Regions from separate parts of the Homo sapiens genome. Here regions 1 and 2 are each linked to region 3. The links are contacts of gene promoters, found by promoter capture Hi-C in blood cells and fetal thymus (Javierre and others, 2016). All regions are on one chromosome and are shown on one strand. The core of a region is centred on a gene start or on the middle of the fragment in contact, and the rest is flanking DNA. Distances in the headings are between cores, read along the strand shown.

Region 1 (4,710 bases), core at 1,380-3,879, 370 kb after region 3:
GCTTCCATTCTCAGGTAACCACCTGCTGTTCCAACAAGTGCCCATGGTTGAAATTGACGGGATGAAGTTGGTACAGACCCGAAGCATTCTCCACTACATAGCAGACAAGCACAATCTCTTTGGCAAGAACCTCAAGGAGAGAACCCTGTACTGTGGCCCCTCTCGAGTGTTGTCACTTGTCAGCTTACTGATGCCTTAGCTGATTAGCAACCTCTGTAGCACACCACATTTACTTTATGTCTTACATAGTTAGTGAGATCAGGGAACAAAAACCCAAGAAGGTCACGAAGACCAGTTGGAACTTCAGTAGAGAGAGTCTGAGTAAAACAAAAGAATAGGATTCAGATATTGAATATTATATCTAGGGTGTCATTGTTTCAGATTTCAACATTTTTAAATGCTTTGATACTGCTTTTTCCCTTTCTTGCACATTCACTATTGTTAAGTATTAGGAATGAGGAGCTGCTGTGACATTCAAGGCCTGGGAGAGTGAGCATTAGATTATAATTTGAAATCAAAGCCTGGTCCTTGCACCCCTTAGATGTATGACCCTGGGCAACGTGGGTATAAGAATAGTACATTTCTCATAGTGTCATGTGATTTAATGAGATAATGGATAGAGAGTGTTTAGCACCATGCCTGGTACACTCTAAGCACTCAATAAGTGGTATTCACTATTTTTATAAAGTTGAAGTTTGACCCATACGAAGAGACCAAAACATGGATGCTGGGGTAAAAGTGGAGGAGTAGGATGCCAGGAGAGAGAGCACTCATGACTGTCAAGCTGTCTGATCTGTGACAGATTTTTCTGAGTTACAACTAGAATTGACCTTATATCTTTGCTCTTAAGAGACAGGTATAGGTAAATGCTTCTAGGGACTTAAGTTGCAGCATCTTTAAAAAAAAAAAAAAAAGCACTCTGAATTCTTAGTTGTGGAAACTGATGGCTTCAAAGAGAGGAGAAACTGAGACAACTGCTTTTTTGTTTTAAGGATTGACATGTACGTGGAGGGGACACTGGATCTGCTGGAACTGCTTATCATGCATCCTTTCTTAAAACCAGATGATCAGCAAAAGGAAGTGGTTAACATGGCCCAGAAGGCTATAATTAGATACTTTCCTGTGTTTGAAAAGGTAGGTGGCAGAGATGCCTACATACACAGAGCAACCAAACCACAAACCACAAAGAAGCTGCCACAAACACCCTTTTCTGTCCAAGGATTTTAAAACTGAGCCCAGTTGAACTAACCTAAGCGCTAATGGACTCCTAAGAGCGAATAGTAGCCACAGCACAAAGCTGGTGTCTTAGAGCCCCTTGGACTCTGCTAGGACCACATGATTCAGAAGTCTAGAAAAAGTATGGGCTCCCTGCCTTTGTTCCTTATTGTTCCTTGCATTCACCAAGTTCCCACCTTGTGTGGATACAGCAGAAACTTCAGAAGATACAGAAAACAAAAACTACCTCATTCATTCATTCAACAAAAGTTGTCGAACAGCTGTCTCAGCTGACATCCTCCCTGATAATTCGATATGAGTAGAAGAACCATTTCCATTTTATTTATCTTCCCTTTGCTCTTTTTGTTTTTGGTTTTGTTGTTTTTCTCTTCTTGTTATATCTGCTTTTCTGAGCTTCAAATTCTTTATTCCTGAACTGGGAGGAACTTTTTTAGTGTTTCAATGCAAACACTAAAGAAGAGGGTGTGAAAATATGGGAAGACCTATTTGGCAAGCTTCCTCTGACCATCTTTATGGAACTAGATTTAGGAAAAAGGAGAGGTATTTTCTGGGGTTTCTGTAGCTAGGTTTTATGGTATCTTTCCCACAGGCACTTTGTGAATGTAAAATAGGATAATGAAGAAATGTGGTCTGGAACGGGCACAGAGGACCTGGTGCTTTGGCAAAGGTTCACTGCTCATTCTTAGGTCCCAAGGGCCCAGACTGTGTCAGGGTTTCTTGCAACACGCCTATGAGGTGAGAACCGTTGTCCCTTTTACACATAATGAAATGAAGTCATGAAGAGATTCAGTGACCTGTCCAAGGTAACATGGCCAGAAAATGGAGAGCAGGGTTGGAACTCTGGCCTCTGACTACAAATTCAGGATGCATTGTACTATGCCACTCTGGCTCCAGTAGCTATATTTGACCTGGAATTGTGTTCGGAGTCCCTGTGACACACACACTTGTGCACATGCAGACACCCATGGGCATCCAAGAGTTGACTGTGAAGGGGATCTCCCCTTTGCTACTACTGCTTCTTGCCTCTCCCTAATCACAATCTATTCTTATAAGCCCCACACCTATACGTTACCCTCAGAATGGGAGTCAAGATGAACTCAAGCTTTTCATTTTCTCTGTTTTGGGACATGTAAGAGGAAGTCTAATTTTATAATTGGGTTGAGTTTATGACTACACCTCTTGATGTTCTAGCAGCAGAACTGGGAAATAAGAGTGGGCCCCTTGAAGATGATCTATCACTTAGATTTCTTAAATCACCCTGCCCCTCCCCAAGCCTCCTGCATGCATTTCTGTAGATACATTTTTGGAGTAGATATATCCTTTCAAAACACCAGATGCTAAATCCAGAAATAAGGAATTTTCCCTTCCCCACTTCAATGTCTCATTCAGATCCACAGCAGATATTTAAGGATGCTTTCATTTCCACACCTTTTTTGTACTTTCTCTCTCTCTCTCTCGCTCTCTCTCTCTCTCTCTCCCCCTCTCTCTCACTCTCTCTGTCAGATATAGGGTGCGTTCTCTTAATTGATGTTATTTATGAAAGCATGAAATGACAAGGTCATAGTTTCACCTCTTCTCAGATACTGCACTGATTCAATAGCCTCATCACTCTCTCCATGTGGAATATTGTAACTGATGCACACCATTTCCCTACAGATTTTAAGGGGTCACGGACAAAGCTTTCTTGTTGGTAATCAGCTGAGCCTTGCAGATGTGATTTTACTCCAAACCATTTTAGCTCTAGAAGAGAAAATTCCTAATATCCTGTCTGCATTTCCTTTCCTCCAGGTAAATAAAACTATGTATTAGAAGATTGGCCTAGAACTCTTGGGCCTTCCTTCAGTGTCTATTGTTTGGTTGGCTTTGGGGAGTGTGTGTGTGTGTGTATGTGTAATATTTTTAAGATTCTAGTTTGGCAAATGAAATGAAAGTAAGGACCCAAAGTTATTTTTCTGGTCCTTAAATCCTTCAAGTTGAAAGATCATTGAAGTGTAAAATTTTTTTTTTTTAAGGTGGGATCTTACTATGTTGCCCAGAATGGTCTTGAACTCCTGGGCTCAAGAGATCCTCCCACCTCAGTCTCCTGAGTAGCAGGGACTATAGGCATGTGCCAGCACACCCAGCTCAGAAATTTTCATCTTAATTTTGTTCCATAACTGCACTCCTGGAAAAAACTCCATGCACAGGGAGTTTGCCTCAGGGGACTTTCCATAGAAATAACCATAGAGATGAGGTGGTCTCACACTCACATGTATCTACTGATGGAATAGTGGGCGAGATAAACATCAAAACAGTCTCATTCATCAGGCTATGACTCCCTTTCTCAGAAATAGTATGGTCTCAAGTTAGGAAATTCTAAGCCTGAGCTCTGAGAGCAAATGAGAGATGTTAGCACCCTAAACATCACCCCAAAGGATTCCTACCATTCTCCTTCTGAGAATTCCAAGGAAAGACTTGTGTGGTTCAAATTATCCCTCAGGGTTATTCTGGCAGGATTGATCATAGAACTTTAAAGGAGAGAAGGGCCTTTAAAAAAAAACTCATTTAATGACTTCAATATTCACTTGAGGAAGTAGAGACCCAGAATAAAGAAATCAGCAGCCAAGCTGGCTTAGGCAGTGGATGCTTGAGTTTTATCTAGAACCTTAGCCTTTTATCTCCAAGTCTAATGTGCAGACTGTAACTCCTGGGCCAAACCTGGCCTGCCACCTGTTTTTATACAGCTTGTGAGTTAAGAATAATTTTTACATTTTTAAATGGTTGAAAAAAATCTGTGGAATAATATTTCATGACACATAAAAATTATATGAAATTCAAATTCTAGTATTCATAAATTTCATTGGTACAAAGCCATGCCCACTCATTTACACAATGTCAAGGTTACTTTTGTTTTTCTACAGCAGAGTTGAGTAGATCTGATAGAGACCATATGGCCTGCAGAACTTAAAATATTTGCTGACTGGTCCTTTATGGAAAAAGCTTGCCAATCCCTGAAACAGCCTGGATACAGACCAAATTGCTATATGTTTGACCAAGTTATCAAAAGCCAAGAGAGATACACTAACTCTCCAAAGAGTAACACACATACTTAAAACAATTTTTTGCCAAGTCTATTAAATATTTTGATATACTAATGAGAGCAATTACCACCAGTTCAATAAGTACACCCAGAAAATGAGAATAAAAATCTTCAACAAGGCAATAAACCACCATATCATTTATGTTATAGTTTATATTTTTTTTTCAATTTTTTTTTCATTTACTTTTGCAGACACAGAGATTGACTTTCCTTAATTTGATTTTATTCATTCAGAACTTAGGATACTTTTCACCTGAAGTATTCTTTTGCACTGTTAAAAAAGTTACTTGTTTAGCAGAGAAGGGAAATTAGAGGAAGGGATCTGCAACTTGTTGAGTGCCAGCTTCATTCCAGTCAGTCTGCTAGGCACTTACATGCATTTGCTCATCTGTCCC
Region 2 (4,232 bases), core at 1,423-3,922, 450 kb before region 3:
AAGGGGAATTATGACGGCTAAGAAACAGGGCCCATCTACCCATGTTAGGACTCACTGACACATCTTTGTGCCCACTATGTACTAAATACTGTCCTAGGTCCAGCCGTGAAGACCTCTGCACTCATGGAGGTTATGTTTTAGTTAGGGAGAGAGACAAAGAACAAGAAAGCAAATATATGGTCTGGAGTTAGGTAATGATATATGCTCTAAAGGACAGGAAAAAATAAAGCAGAATATGAGAAAGAATGATGTAGGGGGCAGGCATTTGAGATAATGCCATCTGGCAATCAACAAAAATCAACTGAACTCTTAAGAGGAGGTGGCAAGGTGAAATTCAAATTTTTAAAGCTATGAAGCCTTTAGTATATTCATTTAAAATATGTGCTGCCTACTACTACATGAAGCGCTATATTGGTGCTGGAGATTACAGGAAAACACACGCATTTGAAGGTATCTGAGAACTGGTGCACACTGAGGAGAAAACCAATGGCATGTGAAAGGCTGAGGAAGTACAGAGGGGAAGCCAAGGTTCCTGCAGGGCAAGTAGGACAAAACAGTGTCACCCTATGAATGACCTTTTCTTCTGAAGTTGCTTCCAACTTGAATATTCTGACTATATTAGAAAAGGATAGATGCTGGAGCAGTGATATGCTTAAGGGAAAAGAAAGAAGCAGAGGGAGGAAGATTTTTATAAGATTCGGCAACATTCATTCAACAGATAAATAACTGTTTATTGAGCAAGACCTATTGGGTGTCACAAGGATGAGATTCTGTGCTGAACAAAGGTAAGGCCGGGCATGGTGGCTCACGCCTGTAATCCCAGCACTTTGGGAGGCTAAGGCGGGTGGGTCATGAGGTCAGGAGATCGAGACCATCCTGGCTAACATGGTGAAACCCTGTCTCTACTAAAAATACTAAAAAATTAGCTGGGTGTGGTGGTGGGCACCTGTAGTCCCAGCTACTCGAGAGGCTGAGGCAGGAGAATGGTGTGAACCCAGAAGGAGGAGCTTGCAGTGAGTGGAGATCGTGCCACTGCACTCCAGCCTAGGCAACAAGAGTGAGACTCCGTCTCAAAAAATAAATAAATAAAAAATAAACAAAGGTAAGCAAAAACACACAGACATCTCAAGAAGGTTACAGTGAGACTGCCTTTGTTAGCACAGAGCCAAAAAGGATCAAACTGCGGGTATGGGGGAGAAGTAGGTGGATGCAAAAAGGATGGTGAGGCTATCACCCAACTGCAACCAAACTGAAGATGAGGGATCTGATGCAAAAGGTTAAAAGATTAGGGAAGTAACCATCAAGTCCATAGCTTAGGAGTAGTTTAACCGTGGTGTCCTTTCCATCCCACACTAACTACATCTGGATTAAAATCATCTGCTTCCTCCCAAAGATGTGAATCATGCCTCCTTTAATCTCTATATTCCCAATAACTTGTAAATAATGGAGTCTCAATAAATGCTTGGCTAAGGCTAAGTTATAATGACATGAGTAAAACAGGAGAGACTAAATAAAGATTTGATGGGTGTGAGAAGCAGGATAGAAGATTCCTGCTAGGTGTCCAAAGCAATTGTATTTGGCTGACATCTGAATGAACAAGACCCACCAGCAACTGCATCTAACTCACTGGACAGCCCTGAGAAAGTCACCTCAATTCTGAATCTGAATTTGTAAAAGGAAGATATTGGCGCAAACCAGAAGTTGCAGGCCTTTCAGTGGAAAGAAGGTGGCTGTTATTACACTGAAACCTGGAGAGTGCATCTTTGCTGCCCTGGTAAGGGGTACCGGCTTCCCCTTAAGCTGTGCTTCCAAACAAATTATAGAGAGGAGAACATACAGCTGGTATGGCCACCAAAATAAGGACCTTTGAGGCTTGTGAACAAAACAGATGCGCTTGTGTGTGGCAGGTAAGGAGACAGGGGTTTGGAGCAGGAGCAGCAGAGACCAGTGGTAATAAGTTATACAGATCTCAGAGGTGAGACAACAGATAGCCCAAGGAAAGAATGGAAGGGATGGAACAGATATCTATGTTTGCAAGGTGGTTCTCATGTCTGGCATGTACACACCCAGGCACCAAGACACACAATAAGTCAGGGAGAAGTAGATTTTACACAACCTAAAAACTTTAATACTAATTTAACAGCTGTTAGAGCAATAATAATCCATTAGCAAGATCACCTGTAACCTTTGAAAAGCTTGTTTATTTACCATATTTACAGAGTGCCATCAGACTATATTTTGAGATTCTGACAAGTTTCCATTTAGGATCACAGAAAGACCTGACATTTCGGCTTGGCATGGGAAATTATGTAATTTCCCATGCCAAGCTGAATTCCCCAACATTACAGGAAAACCCACAAACCCTGCAGAAGGGAGTGAAAAGCCAATCCAGTCAAAGGAAATCTTCCAGTTCTACAAAAGAAAACAAAAAAACAAATACCACAAAGAGCAATGAATCATTTCTAGTGAATAACTTTTCACTCCATCTTCAATAATGTCATCCTGAAGCCCCTGAAAACTATTAAATTACATATTCTATATTCCTGGTGATATCACTGCCTAAAATTACACAACTTAAAGCAGTGAGGGAGCTGACGACTGGTAAGAAATCTTCAAGGACGTAAAAGGCCAGAAAAAAATCATGTGTTTGAAAATGCCTGCGAAATAATAAACGCCTGAGGGAACTTGATGGCTTTGCTGCTTCTAAGCTAAATAAAGCCTGGGGGGCTTTGCAAAGGTCCTAGTGAGGATAATCTCCATGATTACACAGAGCAAACATCCAATCAATTCCACATGAACCCAGGAAAGTTAATCCAAGAAGAACACCACCACTTAAAATATTGAGAAAAACACACAGTTCTTATTGTTTAAATGCTCCATCAGCGCTGGAGAACGTATCAGGTCATTCTAACAAGTCAGAACACTTGACTAGTGTTTCTGTGACAATGATTTGGCTTGTGTTAACTAAAGGGCAACAAGAAGTTTGCGTTCCAAAGCTCAGGCCTAAAACAGGTCCAATCCCCGACTGCCAGCAGTCTCCCTACTTCCTGCACACCTTTGGATTATTGCACACCGACTTCCTGCACACACCTGGGTTTGAGACACCTTCCCCGAGGGGTTACTCTAGCTAAGTTCCCGAGGCAAGCTTGAAAGAAGTTCGCTGTACCCCTACTCTCGGTCAAAGCACCATCAGCACATGTCGCTTGACAAGTTCGGCGGCAATGGAGTGATCAATTTACATAAACAACTCTGAAGAGATAACGCATCACTGCAAGGAGAGAAAGTCAGCAGGACGACTGTGCCCGCTCCGGGAAAGGCGGCTGCAAGGCTGGCCCGCGGGCAGAGCCTCCGCTGACGTTCACCGCAGCTCCCACCACGCAACAGGTCCACGTAGGCAAGGCCCGGGCGGCCGGCATCTGGGCACCTGCCCCTAGCGCTCCAGGCCCAGCTCTCCCCTGCGCCCATCTCGCGTCCACCCCCGCAGCCACCGCAGGCCAGCCGGCCAAGCCCACCCGCGATAAAGCACGGAGCACATTCCTCATTCCTCCCAAGATGCCGAGATAGTGCGGCCCGCTTGAGCGCTGCCCAGGTCACAAGGTCCTCCGGGACATGCCTTGACTAAAGGAGAGGCGCGCCCGGCCCTTGGTGGGGGAACGACCCCGGGGAGTGGAGGGGGGGAGGATGCAGTGCTCTGTAGCTTCCAGATGGAAACAGCCCGAATCACCCGGCTTCTCACCTGACCGGGCACAAGTGCCAGGTGTCAGTACCTAGCATGGATCTAAGTTACTTAACAGTCCAGAACGCTTCTCCAATAGCACGAGCCCCAGTGACTACGCGCAAAATATCCGGTCACTTTGAATAAAATGAAAAGGAACTTTTACTGGGAAAGGATGGAAGTAAAGAGACAGGGGGAGAAAGAAGCAGGTGAATGCATAAAAGAGGGAAGGTTCCTTCACGCCGGACCCGGAGATGGAAGAGGGGACGAGAGAGGATGGGAGCGGAAGGGACAGCAGACGAGCGGGCAGAGCGCTCAGGTGAGGCCGGACCCTTACCTCGGGCAGCTCGCGGAGCTGGTTGGCGTCCAGCAGCAGCTCCTCCAGGCTCCGGGCATAGCGGTAGATCTCCTCGGGGACGTAGACCAGCGAGCAGTGGCGCTTGTCGATGCTCTCCACATGACGGTTGCACCGCCACAGGGGGATGCAGTGGAACATCGCCGCCCCCGCCGCCGCCTA
Region 3 (4,362 bases), core at 1,510-4,009:
CAATCATTTCTTGGGGGACTACCATGTGGATGCTATGAACAAACAGGTAATAGTTACAAGGTTTTGTTAACTGTACCTTACATGGGCTCACATTGTTGGATAGGTGGGTTAGAAGGGCAAGGATGGCTTCAGCACAGTTTCCAGAACCCAGCTGGCCAGGAATCTGATTCTGATGCTACCTAAAACAGGTTCCTTGAGCCCTGTTATTTAGTAAGCCTGGCATTGGATCCTAGGTATTCTTTTGATTTATTTGGAAAAAATCCCACAGTTAAGTTGGGGAGTCGTTTCGGCTCCACTGTTTTTCTTACAGCTTTACTCATGAGTGCAATGATGCAGAAATACGAAGTAATTGTTAGGGTGGGAGGAAGTTTCCCCCAGAGATATATGACACATGATAAACATTACATTGTAATATGTAAAATAATACATTTGCATATATATATATGTTCTGAGAACTCTAAGTCTCTGGCTGGAGAACTAATGAGAACATGACCGTACCAACATGTTTGAGAGGAGTTAATAATCTAATAATCCTGGGATGTGACTATCTGACAGAGGATTGGAACTCTGGAGCTGAAAAGTGATGGTGATGGTGAGGGGGAGTAACTGTTCACAGATTCACTCATCTAACACGTATTTATTGAGCCCTTATATGCCAGGGATTGTACTAAGATCTACAGATCAATAAGGAGCAAAATTCAACATGTTTTCCCCTTCAACGGAGTTTACTACCTAAAGCGGTGGTCTTTAAAGTGGGGTACATATACCCCAAGGATTGAGTGAGATGATGCCATCAGAAAGCAACTACAATACAGGGTGGTGATGCTATAATGGAAACCAAGATACACACATCAACAAAGAACTGTGTAAAAACGCAGCCTTTGGGGGATGGGAAAAAACAGCAAAACGTCATACTTAATCATACAATAAGAAAAATCACTTGATATTTAATGCATAGCTTGACAGTTATATAAGCCTGAACTTAAAGATATTTTGGTCAAATGGGCTTAAAACATTTTATTGATAGGTAAGCACAATTCAAACAAGTGCGGCGTAAAACTTAAGACTTTTGGAATCTCAAGTTAAATTAGAAACTTTTAAAACCTGGAAAGGCAAAACTTAGATGGGATGACAGAGATGAACCCTGGCCTTGGACTACTGGCAGAAGCGTGAAGAATGAAGGAGATATCTCAAAAAAATAGTCTATGCCACCAGCATATGCTTTTCTCATGTCCCTTGATGTCCATAGCAGCATTTACCACTCTGCATTGTAGTTGCTTCCTGACTGTATCATTTTCCAGGCCCAAGAAGTCCTTGAAGGTTTCAAATTTTGAATACCTAACATAGTATCTAGCAAATTGAAGTCATTCAGTGTTTGTGGAGCTCAATGGCAACTGACAATCTCGATTCTTTGTATATGTTTAATTTACTTAATTTGTACATGGTTTGTATACTTGCATTCCTATTGCAATGGCCCACTGCCTGGAACACAGCTGGCACGTGATAAGCATTACATTGTAAATATGTAAAAGAATAAATTTGCCGGCCAGGCTCGGTGACTCACGTCTGTAATCCCAGCACTTTGGCAAGCTGAGGCGAGCGGATTACCTGAGGTCAGGAGTTCGAGACCAGCCTGGCCAACATGGCGAAACCTCATCTCTACTAAAAATACAAAAATTAGTCGGGTGTGGTGGCGCGTGCCTGTAATTCCAGCTACTTGGGAGGCTGAGGCAGGAGAATCGCTTGAACCCGGAAGGTGGAGGTTGCAGTGAGCTGAGATCGCGCCACTGCACTCCAGCCTGGGCAACAGAGCGAGACTCTGTCTCAAAAAAGAAAAAAAAAGAAAAAAAAGAATAAATTTGCCTACATTAAATAGCCGACTGTTAGGTGGATGCACATAGAGGAGTAAGAATACAGCAAGAGGGGCACACGAAGAAAGGCTAAATCTCTGGGGTTTGAATGGGGAAACAGTAGGATACAAAGCTAATGAAGGTCTTTAATTATCCAAATATCAGTGAAAAACAGCAAGGATCTTCCGTTTATGCCCTGAACCCCCTTTGTCTTAAGTGCTTAAATATGCTTAGCTGAAAAGACACTGATTCCATCTTTCCTCATTTAACAATCCTTTAGAATAATTTCTAGAGTAGAAATGGAGTTGATAGTGGCTTCCAAAGAAAAATCAGAATCCCTAAGAAAAATACACGGTAAATCCTTTGCAAGGGAGTTATGGTTACAACAGTTTTGAGTCGTTTTGTTCTTGTTCCTTTATCTTGTTCAACTGCAGACCTTCACTCCGGCGGTCTCCGTGGGCATTTAACCCTTTCAGCTTTAACGATGAAGTGGATCCCCTTCAGCATGACATAACTCATAGAGGAGACCGTAACGAGGGTGGGCTTCTGCCACCCAAATGCGGCCACAGACTCCTGCCACGCCTGGCAGTAAAAAAACCAGAGTTCAGGGCATCGACAACTTCACCGGGGCTATTGCGCAGGCTCTGCGTTCCACGCAGGCTTATTAGGAAGAAAGGGGAAAAAAATTTCCCAGAGACACGTGGAACCGAGGGGCCAACCCCGGCCTAGGCTCTCCACCGCATCGGATTCTGGAATTTACGATCACGAAAGTTCTATTGTCCCGCGATTGGCTCCCGGGCCGCATGACATCATAGCGCTTGATTCATCCTTCGGGTCCCGATTGGCTGGCCGCGCCATTGTGACGTCACGGTCAGCCCACGTTCTGATTGTAGATAGCCGGCGCCTTCCTCTTCCCATCGCGCGGGTCCTAGCCACCGGTGTCTCCTTCTACATCCGCCTCTGCGCCGGCTGCCACCCGCGCTCCCTCCGCCGCCGCCGCCTTGCTGCTGCTCAAAGCTGCTGCCGCCCCTTGGGCTAAAAGGTAAAGCCGTCAGCTCCGGGAAACTTCGTCGGGGGCCGCCGCTCGGCCATGACACCCGCGCGAGCGCGCGGCCGGGAAGCGGTCAGAGAGAACTGCCGTTAGGTCTCGGACCTGGTGCCGAGAAAGAGCTGCCGGGGCAACCCGCGCTCCGCCCGCGGCCTCCAGCTCCGCCGGCTCCGGGGTACAGCCCGGCTCCTCGGGCGCGGGGAAAGGGGTGCGGGTGCGGGCGCGGGCGGCTCGCCCCACGCCGAGGCTGAGGCAGGGCGCTCGGGAGCGTTCTCTGTGCTGCGGTCCCACCTGTGCGCGCTGACAGGCGCCGCGGGGCACGACACCGTGCCCACACCAGACGCGGAGGGATGGATCTGTCCGCCTGGGTCCTCCCGCCCTGCGGGCCGGAGCGCGCGGCGGGAGAGCCGGGGGAGCGCTCTCGGAGGGAGCGCGCTTTCTTTGGAGTCGGCGAAACCCGGGTGAGTTCGAAGAGCCTGTGCGAGGGTCTGCGGGCACCGGGCGCCGCTGGGGGGACTCTCCGGCCTTTCCTTTTTGTCCTGTTCTCTCCGCTTCCGTTAACCCTGCGGACCTTCCGTCCGCCCCTCGGAGGGAAGCCTGCTAGCTCGGGACCGCTTCAGTTTTTATTGAAACCAGACAACGGCAGCCCTTGGTACTCAGGGAGGGATGAGGCTGGTGGGAAAGCGAGAGGGCGGGGACTCGGGGGCGACCGGGGCGGCCCTTTCTGGGAGCCTGATCCCTGGAGAGGCGGGAGCGGTTGGCTGCGAGGGAGGCGCGCGGCGGGGGGGCGGTTGTGCTCTGCGCCGGGGGAGCTAGAGTGTGTGTTGTCTTGCGAGTTGTAAGGAAAAGTGCCTTTTTACTGTTTCCACGCCGGTAAGACTCTCCCACCCCACCACCTCGGGTCGACGGAGCAATGCCTAGAGCAAGAGTTGTTCTTGCTGAACTGCGTCTTGCAACCGTTCCGTGTTCTTGCACTTGGCGGTTCCCCCCGCCCCATCCACAATTGTGAATTAAGCTCCTTGATTGCAAATTTGGAGAATGCATTTGGCCAGTTATGCAAAGTGGCGGAGGTGGCGGGGTCGGGGGCGGGGGGTCTCTTTCGGAAGAATCCAGTGCATGGTTTATTAGCTAGACTGAGGAACCGAGAGGTGCTAGATGGGATTTGTGGGGAGCGAGCAGCCTAATTTGTTTTAAATAGCGGGACCCGTGGCAGGAAGTGCTTCATAGAATTGTACGGAAGAGCTGATGTTGCTTGTCAGGTTTTGTAACTCATTCTCCTAACCGCTTGGCAGATAACCTGTTGGTCTGCACTTGTTTTGCTTGCACGTCTCAGCCAAAAGCATTTCGTGCAGAATCTACAGATAGAAACAGGCGGTTTTGCATTAGATGGCCGTGGACAAACATTTTAGCCTTCCATCTGTGATTGGGGACAAGTGGGTTACTTTTCTGGTAGCTCAGACACTG

What was found. The method cuts DNA at HindIII sites, captures the fragments that hold promoters and counts their contacts. A CHiCAGO score of 5 or more calls a contact.
Region 1: a contact is called between a fragment that was not itself captured here and the fragment with the promoter of ELOVL5 in region 3, in 1 of 17 cell types (naive CD8 T cells). The highest score is 5.8, in naive CD8 T cells.
Region 2: a contact is called between a fragment that was not itself captured here and the fragment with the promoter of ELOVL5 in region 3, in 1 of 17 cell types (fetal thymus). The highest score is 5.1, in fetal thymus.

What each region holds. Positions count from the first base shown.
Region 1 is chr6:52,980,888-52,985,597 of GRCh38, reverse strand. It overlaps GSTA4 (glutathione S-transferase alpha 4), which reads left to right. Exons shown (of 7, transcript NM_001512.4): 4 at 15-147; 5 at 993-1,134; 6 at 2,893-3,024. Among named protein-coding and RNA genes, the nearest start is that of GSTA4, 12 kb to the left of the region's middle. The HindIII fragment of the contact is 577 bases long and covers 2,341-2,917 here.
Region 2 is chr6:53,795,236-53,799,467 of GRCh38, reverse strand. It overlaps LRRC1 (leucine rich repeat containing 1), which reads right to left. Exons shown (of 14, transcript NM_018214.5): 1 at 4,053-4,232. The coding sequence starts at 4,211. Among named protein-coding and RNA genes, the nearest start is that of LRRC1, 2.3 kb to the right of the region's middle. RefSeq lists an enhancer at 3,679-4,232. The HindIII fragment of the contact is 950 bases long and covers 2,198-3,147 here.
Region 3 is chr6:53,347,347-53,351,708 of GRCh38, reverse strand. It overlaps ELOVL5 (ELOVL fatty acid elongase 5), which reads left to right and starts at 2,759. Exons shown (of 8, transcript NM_021814.5): 1 at 2,759-2,892. RefSeq lists a silencer at 2,919-3,358. The HindIII fragment of the contact is 17,438 bases long and covers 1-4,362 here.